Regions from separate parts of the Homo sapiens genome. Here region 2 is linked to region 1. Evidence: promoter capture Hi-C in human tissues and cell types (Jung and others, 2019). All regions are on one chromosome and are shown on one strand. The core of a region is centred on a gene start or on the middle of the fragment in contact, and the rest is flanking DNA. Distances in the headings are between cores, read along the strand shown. Region 1 holds the start of ARHGAP44 (Rho GTPase activating protein 44). Region 2 overlaps MYOCD (myocardin).

Region 1 (6,776 bases), core at 815-3,314:
GCATAAACATGTTCTGAACATTTAGATTCTAGCACGGCACTGAAACCCCAAGACCAAGAGAAACCAGCAACCCAAGTCTAGTGTCAGGGGCCTCCTGGTCACTTGGCTGGTCTGAGGTGATGGCCAATGCCCGCCTGCAGGGTGACGAAGAAGCCAAGACATTAAAGACGGGTCGGCTTGACTGTCATCTGCTAAACAACGAATACCAGGAAACACTATCTCGGCATCCAACACATCAAAAGGCAGTCCACGTGAGGCTATATCTGTGGCAATACCATGCCAGAAATCTGGGCTAATCTGACTCTGCTATTCATAAATTCCCCCTCATGTTAAAGCACATGTGTTTGGGAAGGAAAAATGAATCCAAGTCAATTTTAGACATTGTTACTTGGAAACCATCTGGAGTCCCTGGAAGCATAAGAAGCCACCGCATCCCCTGCCCTCAAATGCCCACTGTAACTAGGGCAGTATGCTCAGACGGGAGTTCAGATGTCCCCTATTCCCCAGGGATGTCCCCACCCCCATCCTACCAGATGCCAGTTCAGGCTCCACTTCCCACCCAAGAAAGGTATTCGGTTTCTCCGTAAACCTAGTGGAGAGCCCTCGAGGTGTTGAGCTTGCATTTGAACTGCACCCAAGGCTGGATTCTTTGCTTTCTGATTGCTTTAGAACAGCACACCTGAATTCCTTTGCCACAGCAGCAACGGAAATCCCTCCCCAGGAGTAGGGGTTCCAGGAAAAATCCCTTCTACCTAACGCTCCTGTGTTCAAAGAATGTCTAGTCTTGGGAGCGACCCACCAGGATTTTTATGTAACCTTAATAGATGTTGGCACCCTGCAGAGCCGCTCCTGGAGTCCAGATGTAGCCCATTTTCACCGTGATGGCAGCAGGCGGGGTCTTGCAGCTTCCCGGGGCCTGACTCTTCTGACTGTGGGGCCTCTGTCCCCCTCCCCTACCTGGCTGCGATTCTCTGCTTATCTCATCTTCCCGAGGACTTGGGCCTCCTTTTTGCAGCCTCCCTCCCTCCACTGAAATCAGTCCTAACATCAAGCAGGCAGCAACGCCATTCCACCAGCACCTTCCTTCCTCTCCCACCCCTCACCCTTTCCCCCCACCAAACGCCTTAAGAAACCCGGCCAGGAAAGTGATCCAGAATCTCGTACAGTCATAGTCCCTGAAAACAAACACGGCGGGAGGGGCAGGCCGACCAGGCCCAGCACTTTCCCTGGACCCGGGAGCAGCCCTGAACTCGGCGCAGGGGAGGGGAGGGAAGAGATCTCCGGAGACCGACTGCGGTTCGGCTGCCTCCAGCACAATCAGAGCAAACACCTGTTTCCAGGAAGACAGGCGGCCAGAGGGAGAAGGGAGTCCCGGGGAAAGGCAGGGAGGACGAAGCGAAGGGGCAGCCGGGGACGCAGGTAAAGGATGCGTCACACTTTGCGCTTGGCAACCGGAGCCCGGAGCAGAAGGCGGCGAGTGAGAAGAGCTCCGGGGTCTGGGAAGTTAGGGAGGAGGGGTCGCGCCTGCGAGCGGCGCCTGGAGGGAGCTGGTGCAGGGGAAAGGACTGAGGCAAGGAGGACTGGAGGCTGGGCGGGCTCCATCACCTGCGCGCCCCTGCGGATGCAGCCTCGCGGGCGCGCACCGACAGCGGTGCCCGCGGGTGACCTACCTGCCCACCGTCTGGTTGGCCAGCTGGCGCATGCGATTGAACTGCTTCTTCATCGTGGCCCCGCTGCCGCGCTAGCCCGGGAGCTGGGGAAGGACGGAGCAGCCCGGAGCCCGCCGCAGGGTTACATGGCTCCCGCGCGGAGCCTCCCGGGCGACGGCGGCGGCACTGCGGAGCCTCCGGGCGCCGTCTGGCCCGCGCGCAGCTCCCTCCCGAGGGCGCCGCCGCCTACTCCTCCCGCCGCGCCGCCTCCTGCCGCATCCCCCTCACGCGCGCCGCGCAATGCCCGGGGCAGAGCAATGCCTGGGGCCGTCCTCGGCACCGGCCCGCTCCGCCCGGGCTGCCTGCTCCCAGTCCCAGTCCGGCGCGGGGACCCGGGAGTCTCCGCAGGCTGGCTGGCCGGCTGGCCCGGCGGTCCCCGTGCGCCTGTGCGGAGAACGCCGTGCATGCCGGGACTTGTAGTTTCGCGCCCCGTGCCCACCTTTCCTCTGTCCAAAGTTTGCAAGGACAGTGGAGTGCGGAGGTGGGAGAAGGCAGCGTCACCAGCAGCTTTGCACTTTAGCGTTCGAGTAAGGGAAACGTTTTCCTGTTTTAAAAATGGCAAAGTGGGACCAAGAATACAACAGCAAATAAAGAAAGTGAGCATCTGTCTCTCATTGTATTTTTAGTGAATGTGAGGTATCAGTGTTCTGAATTCACAGAAGGGAGATTTATGCTAGCAGATACGTGGCTGATAAAACGGTCTAAGGTCACCTGATTAATGATGAGGTTCAAGGTTAAGCTTGAAACACAGGGGCTGACAGCAGATTTTGAACAGGCATAGCTTGCATCCCAGAAGTCTGATTCTTAATTTTTACCAAACCAAACCCATTAGGTAACCAGAAGCCAATATAGATAAGTGACGTTGTGCTTACTGGCCCAACCTGTCTGAGACAGCTTTTTTGTATGGCTTAGATGCCAATCTCGTATCTAGTCCCATTTCCCTTCCACCACCAGGAGACCAAGGGGCATCAGCTGCAGCACCCCCCAAGTGTCCTGCACCACAGCATCCCATTGGCGTCAGTTGACTCCTTGGAAGGGGTTGTGGCTTCTTTGGTCTCTATCCTTAGAAAAAGATAGGTGAGCCGGGCGCGGTGGCTCACGCTTGTAATCCCAACAGTTTGGGAGGCCAAGGAGGGTGGATCACGAGGTCAGGAGTTCGACACCAGCCTGGCCAACACAGTGAAACCCTGTCTCTGCTAAAAATACAAAAATTAGCTGGGCGTGGTGGCGGGCACCTGTAATCCCAGCTACTTGGGAGGCTGAGGCAGGAGAATAGCTTGAACCTGGGAGGTGGAGGTTGCAGTGAGTGGAGATCGCGCCATTGCACGCCAGCCTGGGTGACAGAGCTAGACTCCATCTCAAAAAACAAAAAAAAAAGAAAAGAAAAAAAAGAAAAAGATTGGTGATTGCAGTTAGGTTTTATCATTATATATCAAGGTTTTATCATTATATATCAAGTAAAAGCAGTATTGTTGGGTGTGAGGCACTTTGGATTAAACAGATAGGAGTTCCTGCATCAGAATTCCACATACCTGTTATATAACCTTAGGAAAACAGCTTAACCTCTCCAAACCTCTGTTTCCTCATCCCTAAATAGAAAAATATGCTGCCTGATCTTCAGTAAGAGAACTATTTGTTAAATTACAATAATCAAATTACATATAAATTTTCATATAGTACATTGCCGTATTCATTTACTACAAAATGATTATATTTAGCATAATAGAGAAAAATCCTGTTCATACAACAGAATTACTAATCTTATAAAGGAAGGATCTTCTTTGAAATAGGATATTTTGCATATGTTGATTATAGTTGCAAGATGTCCTAAATATGGCTCTAAGTATCTTGCTGGCTAGCTGAACAAAAAGTGGTTTGAGGCATGTCTTGGCTGAATGAACATGAAATCTTTAATTAATTGTGAATTTAGCCTCTGCTTATTAGGTCAGACAACTCCAGCCAGTGAATAAATGAAGGCATTATTTGCTTTTAACCAACTATGCTGTACCTATAATGTCAATATGATGTCTATATTAAGTGAAATTATTTCCATTTTGAGATTTTTTAAAAAGCAAAGTACAACATGCTTTTTATGTGTATAAACGGTAAGACATTAAGGTCACTGTATGACTTTTAGCAACACTATCTCTGGTAACTTCCAGAACTGCACTGTTGAATATAGTATCCCCTAGCCACATGTGGTTGTTGCAATTTAAGTTAATTAAAGTTCAAAATTTGGTTCCTCACTTTTGCACTGTTGGTGGGATTGTAAATTACTTCAACCATTGTGGAAAACAGTGTGGCAATTCTTCAAGGATCTAGAACTAGAAATACCATTTGACCCAGCAATCCCATTACTGGGTATATACCCAAAGGATTATAAATCATTCTGCTATAAAGACACATGCACATGTATGTTTATTGTGGCACTGTTCACAATAGCAAAGACTTGGAAACAATCCTAATGCCCATCAATGATAGACTGGATAAAAAAAAATGTGGCACATTTTCACCATGGAATACCATGCAGCCATAAAAAAGGGTGAGTTCATGTCCTTTGCAGGGACATGGATACAGCCATTAAAAAGGATGAGTTCATGTCCTTTGCAGGGACATGGATGAAGCTGTAAACCATCATTCTCAGCAAACTAACACAGGAACAGAAAACCAAACACCGCATGTTCTCACTCATAAGTGGGGGTTGAACAAAGAGAAAACATGGACACAGGGAGGGGAACATCACACACCGGGGCCTGTCGCGGGTAGGGGCAAGGGGAGGGATAGCATTAGGAGAAATACCTAATATAGATGATGGGTTAATGGGTGCAGCAAACCACCATGGCACGTGTATACCTATGTAACAAACCTGCACGTTCTGCACACATATCCCAGAACTTAAAGTTTAATAAAAAATAAAATAAAATAAAAACAGAATTTAGTTCCTCGGTCACCCAAGTCACATTCGAAGTACTTAAGAGCCACATGTGGCTAAAGGCTACTGTACTGGACAGCACAGATAAAGAACATTACTATCCTCTCAGAAAGTTCTACTTGTTAGCACTAATCCTCAAGAACTCTGGTAGCCAACTCCAATATCATGCCAGCCCCTGCCTTCAATCCCAAGATTTTTCCGTTCCAAAGGGAAATCCCTTTGGCAGCCTCCCCTGCCAGAGTGTGGTCCAATAATGTTTTATTAACTGGTGGCTTCTCCACAGATTTTCTGTCTTCCTTTGAATGCTTCCTTCACTCAGGAAGCAGCTAGTACATTTTCTGCTTTCTACCCCGGGGAAGGGATAATAGTGCAGAAACAAGAGCTTCAGAAACACATGTGACAGAATAGAGTTCTTCAAGAAAAGAGTTTTGAGTTTCCAGAATACAGGCTTTGGAGCTTTAATAGTCTATGTCAGAAATAGTAGATTATAAAGCATATATCATCCTGCTTAGTCTAAATAAAGAACCTACAGGCTGTGAGATGTTGAAGATGGTGATGGGGACTGGAAAGCGGGAGAGAAAGAGAGAAGAAAAGTAGATGATGCTTGTGCAGATACTATTAATGCCCAAAAAATTTCACTGCCAATCCCTATGGGAAGGACTCTATTTTACCTTACTGTTGAGGTAAAGATCGGTCATGTGATTTTCTTTGAACAATGAATATGCACAGAGGTGACTTTTACGCTTCTTCTGAGGGCAGAAGTTTCAGGAGTCATTTTGTGATCCTGCCCTCTTCTTCTTAACGCTGCCAATGAACCAGTTAGGGGATGCTGTGGAACAGTGATGTGGCCCCCCAGCAAAAGGTATCTTTGCTGTTTTAAATCAGAGGTTTGTTGCTGTAACATAATTGAGTCTAAGCTGACTGCTACAGTGGGTTTCTCTGAGAAAGTAGCATGCACCTTGCTTTTACCCATGGTCAACAATTAGGTTGGGGGCAGGCAGACTGAAGACAGATATATCATATCGTTTTGGGGCATCTGAGCACAGTGGAGAAGCTGTACACCACTCCTGGAGTGAAGGCTAGGCATGGCCAAGCTTGTGGAGATCCTCTGCCTTCTAAGACAGAGGACCAGTAAGACATCTATATGAAGTGCCTCAGGTACCCATACCACAGGCTAGTGGCAGCCCCAGAGCTCCCTGCACCCAAGCCATGTGCGATGATTTGGTGTCTGCATGTGTGCTGTGAGGATACACAAATGTACCTGAAACAGCTGGATGTGAAAGCTATTGAGATCAAAGATGATGATCAGGAGGAGGAGGCAGCATTGGCCAAGATGGAGATGGAATTGCCTAAAACTTAATTTTTGCCACCTAGAAGAATAGACTTAATATAAAATTTAAATGTATTTGCAAAAGAAGAGGAGGAGGTGAGGAAGGACGGTGGGAAGGGGAAAGAAGAGGAGAAAAGAAGAAAGAAATTTCTATGTCTTATATACCTAGCTTTGACCTATGGGAAGATTACACTTCCCTGCTCCTGTTGACCTTGACTTTGACCTTGTCACTTGCTTTGGTCAACAATATATGGGCTTCTTACTTGCTTCAGCAACATTGTAGTACTATTTGTCTGAGATATGTTCCCTTAGAAATCTGATACTCCATTTAGAATCCCCTGAATTAGAATGGTTTTAACCTCTACTCTGAGAGCAAGCATTCACTAGAGCCACCTGGCCAACATGGGAATCATTAGCTACATGTGGTTACTTAAATATTATTTTAAATTAGGTTAAATAAAACAAAAATTTCAGTTTTTCATTTCAAGTGCCCAATAACTACATGTGGCTAGTGGCTGCCGTAGTAGAGAATGTAAAATAACATTTTCATCATCATAGAAAGCTCCATTGGACAGGGCTGGTCTACAGAACAGAATTCAGAATAACCTCATGTGTCACTTAATGACAGGGATATGTTCTGAGAAATACATTATTAGGTGATTTTGTTGTTGCAAAAACATCATAGAAAGTACTTACACAGCCAGGCGTGGTGGCTCACGCCTGTAATTCCAGCACTTTGGGAGGCCAAGGCAGGTGGATCACCTGAGGCCAGGAGTTCGAAACCAGCCTGGCCAATGTGGTGAAA
Region 2 (5,985 bases), core at 1,900-4,399, 43 kb after region 1:
TATATATATATAAGTTTTGAGACAGAGTCTCGCTCTGTCACCCAGGCTGGAGTGTAGTGGTGCGATCTCAGCTCACTGCAACCTCCGTCTCCTGGGTTCAAGCAATTCCCCTGCCTCAGCCTCCTGAGTAGCTGAGATTACAGGTGTGCACCACCACACCCGGCTAATTTTTTGTATTTTTAGTAGAGATGGGGTTTCACCATGTTGGCCATGCTGGTTTTGAACACCTGACCTCAAGCGATCCGCCCACCTTGGCCTCCCAAACGCTAGGATTACAGGCGTGAGCCACTGCGCCCCGCCTGAAATCACGTTTTGAATAGCAAAAATCTGGTAGCTAGTGAAGTGTCCAGCAGTGGAATGTTAACTAGGTGGTGAAGTGATATGCTGCTATTAAAAATAAAAAATTTATTGAATATTAACAGTTATGAAAAATGTTCACGATGTGTTAAGAAAAGAAGTATGCCAGTAATTTATGTGCACGTAATTTTTTCAAGACAATTATTTTAAAACAAAATGTTTATATGCATTTTAAACCTAGAAGGAAATATAATCTGCTTTCTGTTAGTCTTATCTTTCAAAATACTGTTTACTTTTCTACACACTATCATATTTCAACAGTCAATATATGTTACTTTATAATCAGCTAAAAGGAAAGGATTGAATTAACTTACATTAGCAATTATTTATTTACCCTATAGTCTTGCTGGAATTGTTTTATCATTTTCTTTTAGATTTGCTGGTTTGAAAAAGTACAAAATGGCAACTCATTATTGTTTTAATTTTGAATTACTTAAAATTGATGAGTTCTACATTTATTTTTAGAATCTGTCTTGCCACTGAATAATTTAACTACATTATTAAATAATGTAGCTCATATTCTAAAAATGAATACAGTTGAGTTTAATTTACCTTAAACTTCAGAATATTACACTGTATGCGCTTGTTCAGGACAAAGGTTTATATACACCTCTTCCCTACATTCACTAGTGTTTTCATCACTAATAACTTTTTAAACTATTATGGAAAAATTCACACATACACAAAAGTAGATAGAAAGTCTAATGAACCTCATATACTCATCAACAAACTTCAACAATTATCACTCATGCCCAATCTTGTTTCTTCTATACTCCAACCCACTTCTCCTACCTTTCCTGAATTATTTTGAAGCAAAGCATACATAATTTCATCCAAATAATTTGGTCTCTATCTCTGAAAGATAAGTACTCTTAAAAAGCCATAATATAATAACATTATCACACCTTAAAATATGAATTATTATTTCTTAATATCAATAAGGTATTCTCTCAGTTTTTTAAACTTTCAGTCTCTCTCTTTCTCTCTCTCTCCAGTTTTTTTGTTTTTTTGTTTTTTTTTTTTTTTTTTGAGACGGAGTCAAGCTCTGTCATCAGGCTAGAGTGCAGTGACACGATCTTGGCTCACTGCAACCTCCACCTCCCGGGTTCAAGCGATTCTCCCGCCTCAGCCTCCCGAGTAGCTGGATTACAGGCGTGCACCACCACGCCCAGCTAATTTTTATATTTTTCGTAGAGATGGGGTTTCACCGTGTTGGTCAGGCTGGTCTTGATCTCTTGACTTCATGATCCGCCTACCGCAGCACCCAAAGTGCTGCGATTATAGGCGTGAGCCACCACGCCCAGCCAGTTTTTTTTTTTTTTAAATAGGATCCAAAAAATTATCCACATACTGTGATATATAACCATGAACTTTTCAAAAAGAAATCAAAGACTTTTCTCTCAGTGTTCTTTTCCTTTTGTGTAGCAAAACATGAAAATTGCTTGCAAATGTCACCTTCATTATATGACCTTTCTGATTACTATTAGCGGGGTCACCTTCATCCATTCCTCTTATTTCTCCCTTTCCTCAATTGTGGTTGCATCATATGCCTCCTTCATTCCTCTTCTCTCTTTCCTTCTCACTCTTTCCATTTTGTTCTTTGTCAATCTCATTCACCCTTCTAGGTTCAATGCTCCACACGTCGCACATGAGTCTGAAATTTCTTTTCCCACCCCTGACAAGACAGCCTGGCTAATTCTTACTGATGGAAATGGATGACTTTTCTCTCGGTTGTCCTGCTGGTACCCGCGACTTGACTTTCCCAAACTGAATGAACTTGCCACTGTCCCTTCACATCAACTCCTCATTCTACTCTCCTTCTGTCATTGATGTCACTCTCCCAAGACTCAGATGGCGCCTCTCCCCATACACACAGTGAGTGGTCAAGTCCAGCCACGTTCTCTCCTGCCCATCTCTCTCTTTCCACTCACGTCTCATACAATAGCAAAGCCCTTGAAATAAGTTACTTAGCTTTAAGCCTCAGTTTTGTCATTCATAAGCTGGTTAAACTGCCTATCATTTGACCTCTTTATGATTCTGGTTTTTATTTTCACTTTTTAAATTGGGGAGACAAAACTTATCTTGCAGGGTGAAAATTAAAGCAAATCTACACAGAATGAATGACAGATGGTTTATATTTAAAAAAAAAAAAAATTGGTAGGGGCTGGGCAGGGTGGCTCATGCCTGTAATCCCAGCACTTTGGGAGGCCAAGGCCGGTGGATCACCTGAGGTCAGGAGTTCGAGACCAGCCTGGCCAACTGGTGAAACCCTGTCTCTACTAAAAATACAAAAATTAGCTGGGTGTAGTGGTAGGTGCCTGTAGTCCCAGCTACTAGGGAAGCTAAGGCAGGAGAATCGCTTGAAGCCGGGAAGCAGAGCTTGCAGTGAGCCAAGATTGTGCCACTGCACTCCAGCCTGGATGACAGAGCAAGACTCCATCTCAAAAAAAAAAAAAAAAAAAGGTAGGCACCATCATCATCATCATCTCCTTATACCTATACTAATTACCGTAACTCTCACCAGCCAATGATTCTGAGCATGTGTATCTAGAGGGATCCACCTGCCTCAGCCTCCCAAAAGTGGGTTTTGAGGGGTCTGACAGATGGCACTATCATATCTGGATCATGTTTCTCTTTGGCTAAAGCATCTCCTGTCTCACTTGTCTCCTGTCTTACTCTTATCTAGAAATAGCCTACTTAAAAATTATTTTTTGCTATGGTAAAATAAACATAAAGTTTGTCTTTTCCCTCTATCTCAAAAGAAAGGGCTCTTGCCCTTTCTTGCCCTTCCACCTTCTGCCCTTCTACCATGGGATGGCATTTGCCAGATACTGGTGCCATGTCCTCGGACTTCTCAGTTCTAGAACTGTGAGAAATAAATTCCTTTTCTTTTCAAATTTCCCAGTTTCCAGTATCCTGTTACGGCTGCATAAAATGGACTAGACAACTGGGGTGTTCAACCACAGCAGGATAAATTCTGTCACCTCCTTCAGTGTTTCCTACAGTCTTCTTCCCCTCCCACTCTCTTACTCCAGATATCAGTTGGTCCTGGTGATGTTAACAACATACTGTTGTATTTGTTTAAAAAAAGAAAGAAACTCATGTCAAATCCTATACCTTCAGATCATCCAGGTTAGGTGGGAGTGGGCCTGGTTTGAAAGAAGAGACACCAGTTTGTCCAGAAAAACTGTTTTTGACAGGAGACAAGGGGGTATTGCTCAGTGGCGTTGAAGAAGAGTTTGGATTTCTGACCATCTGTTCATTTGGTTCCCTAAAAAACAAACAAAGAGGCATTTCAAGTACAATCAAATATTGGTGGGATAACTTGCATTTAGATCGGATCCCAAAGTGATTGCCTGCAAGGGTCAGGCATGTAATAAACCAGCAGAAGAGACCAGGGTGAGGAAAAACAACACTGCCGGCTAGACGGTAAGCGGTGCGTGACATCTGAACTTTGTTTAGGGAGATAAGAGGGAGTGGCAGGGACTTTGGCATATGAAAGAGGACACATCCACCTGTGATTCAGCTGATGCTCTGTCCTGGGGAGGCCAAACACACCTGGTGAAGCTTGGTTGCGTTTAGTGCTCAGCATAATTGCTAGTATATAGTCTGAGGATGACACAGGAGGAATCTACATCTCAACTTTATATGTGGGGATATTGACAATTTAAAGGGTGACCTGGCCAGGCACGGTGGCTCATGCCTGTAATCCGAGCACTTTGGGAGGCCGAGGCGGGTGGATCACCTGAGGTTGGGAGTTTGAGACCAGCCTGACCAACGTGGAGAGACCCTGTCTCTACTAAAAATACAAAATTAGCCGGGCGTGGTGGCGCATGCCTGTAATCCTAGCTACTAGGGAGGCTGAGGCAGGAGAATCGCTTGAACCTGGGAGGCGGAGGTTGCGGTGAGCCAAGATCGCGCCATTGCACTCCAGCCTGGGCAACAAGAGTGAAACTCCATCTCGAAAAAATAAATGAATAAATAAATAAATATATTTAAAAAAAATAAAAGGTGACCTAGCAATGTGGTCACACAACCTGGGCTCAGGAGTCAATCTTTGAGAGTGTCTGTCAGCTGCTCAGCCCTGTTCCTTCTAAAAGCAGAAGGGCATCGGAATTGCTCATAATTCCAATATCACATTCTTAGACTTTCCATAGTCCAACTTGAAAGTGCTAATACTTTCCTTTTCCCCAAAGGGGCCTCTTATCAAGGGCATTGATTTATAGCAGTCCCTCCACCTATTGGCAGTTTCACTTTACAAGATTTCAGTTACCTGAGGTCAACTGCAGTTCAAAAATAGTTGTGTCCAGTACAATAAGTTATTTTGAGAGAGAAACCACCACATCCAGATACCTTTTATTACAGTATCTTGCTATAATTGTTCTACATTATTGCTAGCTATTATTGTTATTCTCTCACTGTGCCTAATTTATAAGTGAAACCTTATCACAGGTATATATGCCTAAGAAAAATACAGTATATGTAGAGTTCAGTACTCTCTGAGGTTTCAGGGATCCAATGAGGGTTTGGAATACATCTGCAGATATAGAGGGCCCTGTATTTGCTTCCTCCCAGTCTTACGGCTCTGAAAAGGTGTGCATAGTTTCTAAATTGAGTCACCTTCCAAACATACTGGATGAGGAAATGGTGCAATACAGGACTTGCTAGGCCCCATGGTGCTGGCAGATAGATATTAATAGACACCCTTCCCAACCTCTGCCCACAGCCACCCTCCCAGCCTTGCCGGACTTACTTAAGCTGAGCTTGGTGCATCCCTAGGTAGCTGAATCGGTGTTGCTGCTGCTGCTGCTGCTGGCTGAGGATTTGGAGCTGCAGGAACAGCTGCTGTTGCTGGAGCAGCCGAGCGTAGGCTGAGTCCATAGGTGGAGGGGACTTCTCTGCCTTCTGGTCTGGGGGAATGTACTGGTGATATTTAAGCTTCTTCACCTTTGGCTTGGGGTCCTTGGGCTTTTTGTGGCGGTTCTTACTGTCACCCAAGGATTTGGACTGCAAAGAAGATGAGGAAATTGCATGTGCTTTAGGTGATGGCTGAGAATGATTTTGCATCATGGACACGTTGTGAGGCAGTTTTGTCTGATGGCCATTCTTGGATCTCAGAAATATAATATAGCAAAGGCATGATGTACAAAGAGCTCCTAGGACACTAACGTTGCTAATGAACAAATCCATTGCAAATGTATCACACTGGAAGGACACTCCTTAGACAGGGAATGTTGAATCTTAGAAGCAGCTCCAGAGTTTTTCCTTTCTGGAGTACAGCAAAATGTAATCCTGTGTTTCAATGAGTGCATTCTCCTAACCTAAAACCAACTGATGACCTAACAAAGGTTGCATTCTGATCTTGAGACTACTTGTAGAAAGTTCTTTCATGGCTGGGAGCGATGGCTCACACCTGTAATGCCAATGCCAACACTTTGGGAGGCCGAGGCGGGTGGATCACCTGAAGTCATGAGTTCGAGACTAGCCTGACCAACACGGTGAAACCCCTTCTCTACAAAAAATACAAAAAGTAGCCAGGTGTGGTGTCAGGCGCCTGTAATCCCAGCTACTCGGGAAACTGAGGCAGGAGAATTGCTTGAACCCAGGAGGCAGAGGTTGCAGTGAGCC

The links. Contacts are between HindIII fragments. The study calls those that stand out against the background at their distance.
Region 2: a fragment that was not itself captured here is called in contact with the fragment with the promoter of ARHGAP44 in region 1 in 2 of the 25 tissues and cell types used here (pancreas and spleen).

Annotation. Positions count from the first base shown.
Region 1 is chr17:12,784,786-12,791,561 of GRCh38, reverse strand. It overlaps ARHGAP44 (Rho GTPase activating protein 44), which reads right to left and starts at 2,064. Exons shown (of 21, transcript NM_014859.6): 1 at 1,671-2,064. The coding sequence starts at 1,723. It overlaps ARHGAP44-AS1 (ARHGAP44 and MYOCD antisense RNA 1), which reads left to right and starts at 1,278. Exons shown (of 2, transcript NR_104607.1): 1 at 1,278-1,419. RefSeq lists a silencer at 1,788-2,137. The HindIII fragment of the contact is 5,339 bases long and covers 1-4,092 here.
Region 2 is chr17:12,743,562-12,749,546 of GRCh38, reverse strand. MYOCD (myocardin) reads right to left here. Exons shown (of 14, transcript NM_001146312.3): 8 at 5,111-5,364; 9 at 3,475-3,628. Among named protein-coding and RNA genes, the nearest start is that of MYOCD-AS1, 40 kb to the right of the region's middle. The HindIII fragment of the contact is 8,828 bases long and covers 1-5,985 here.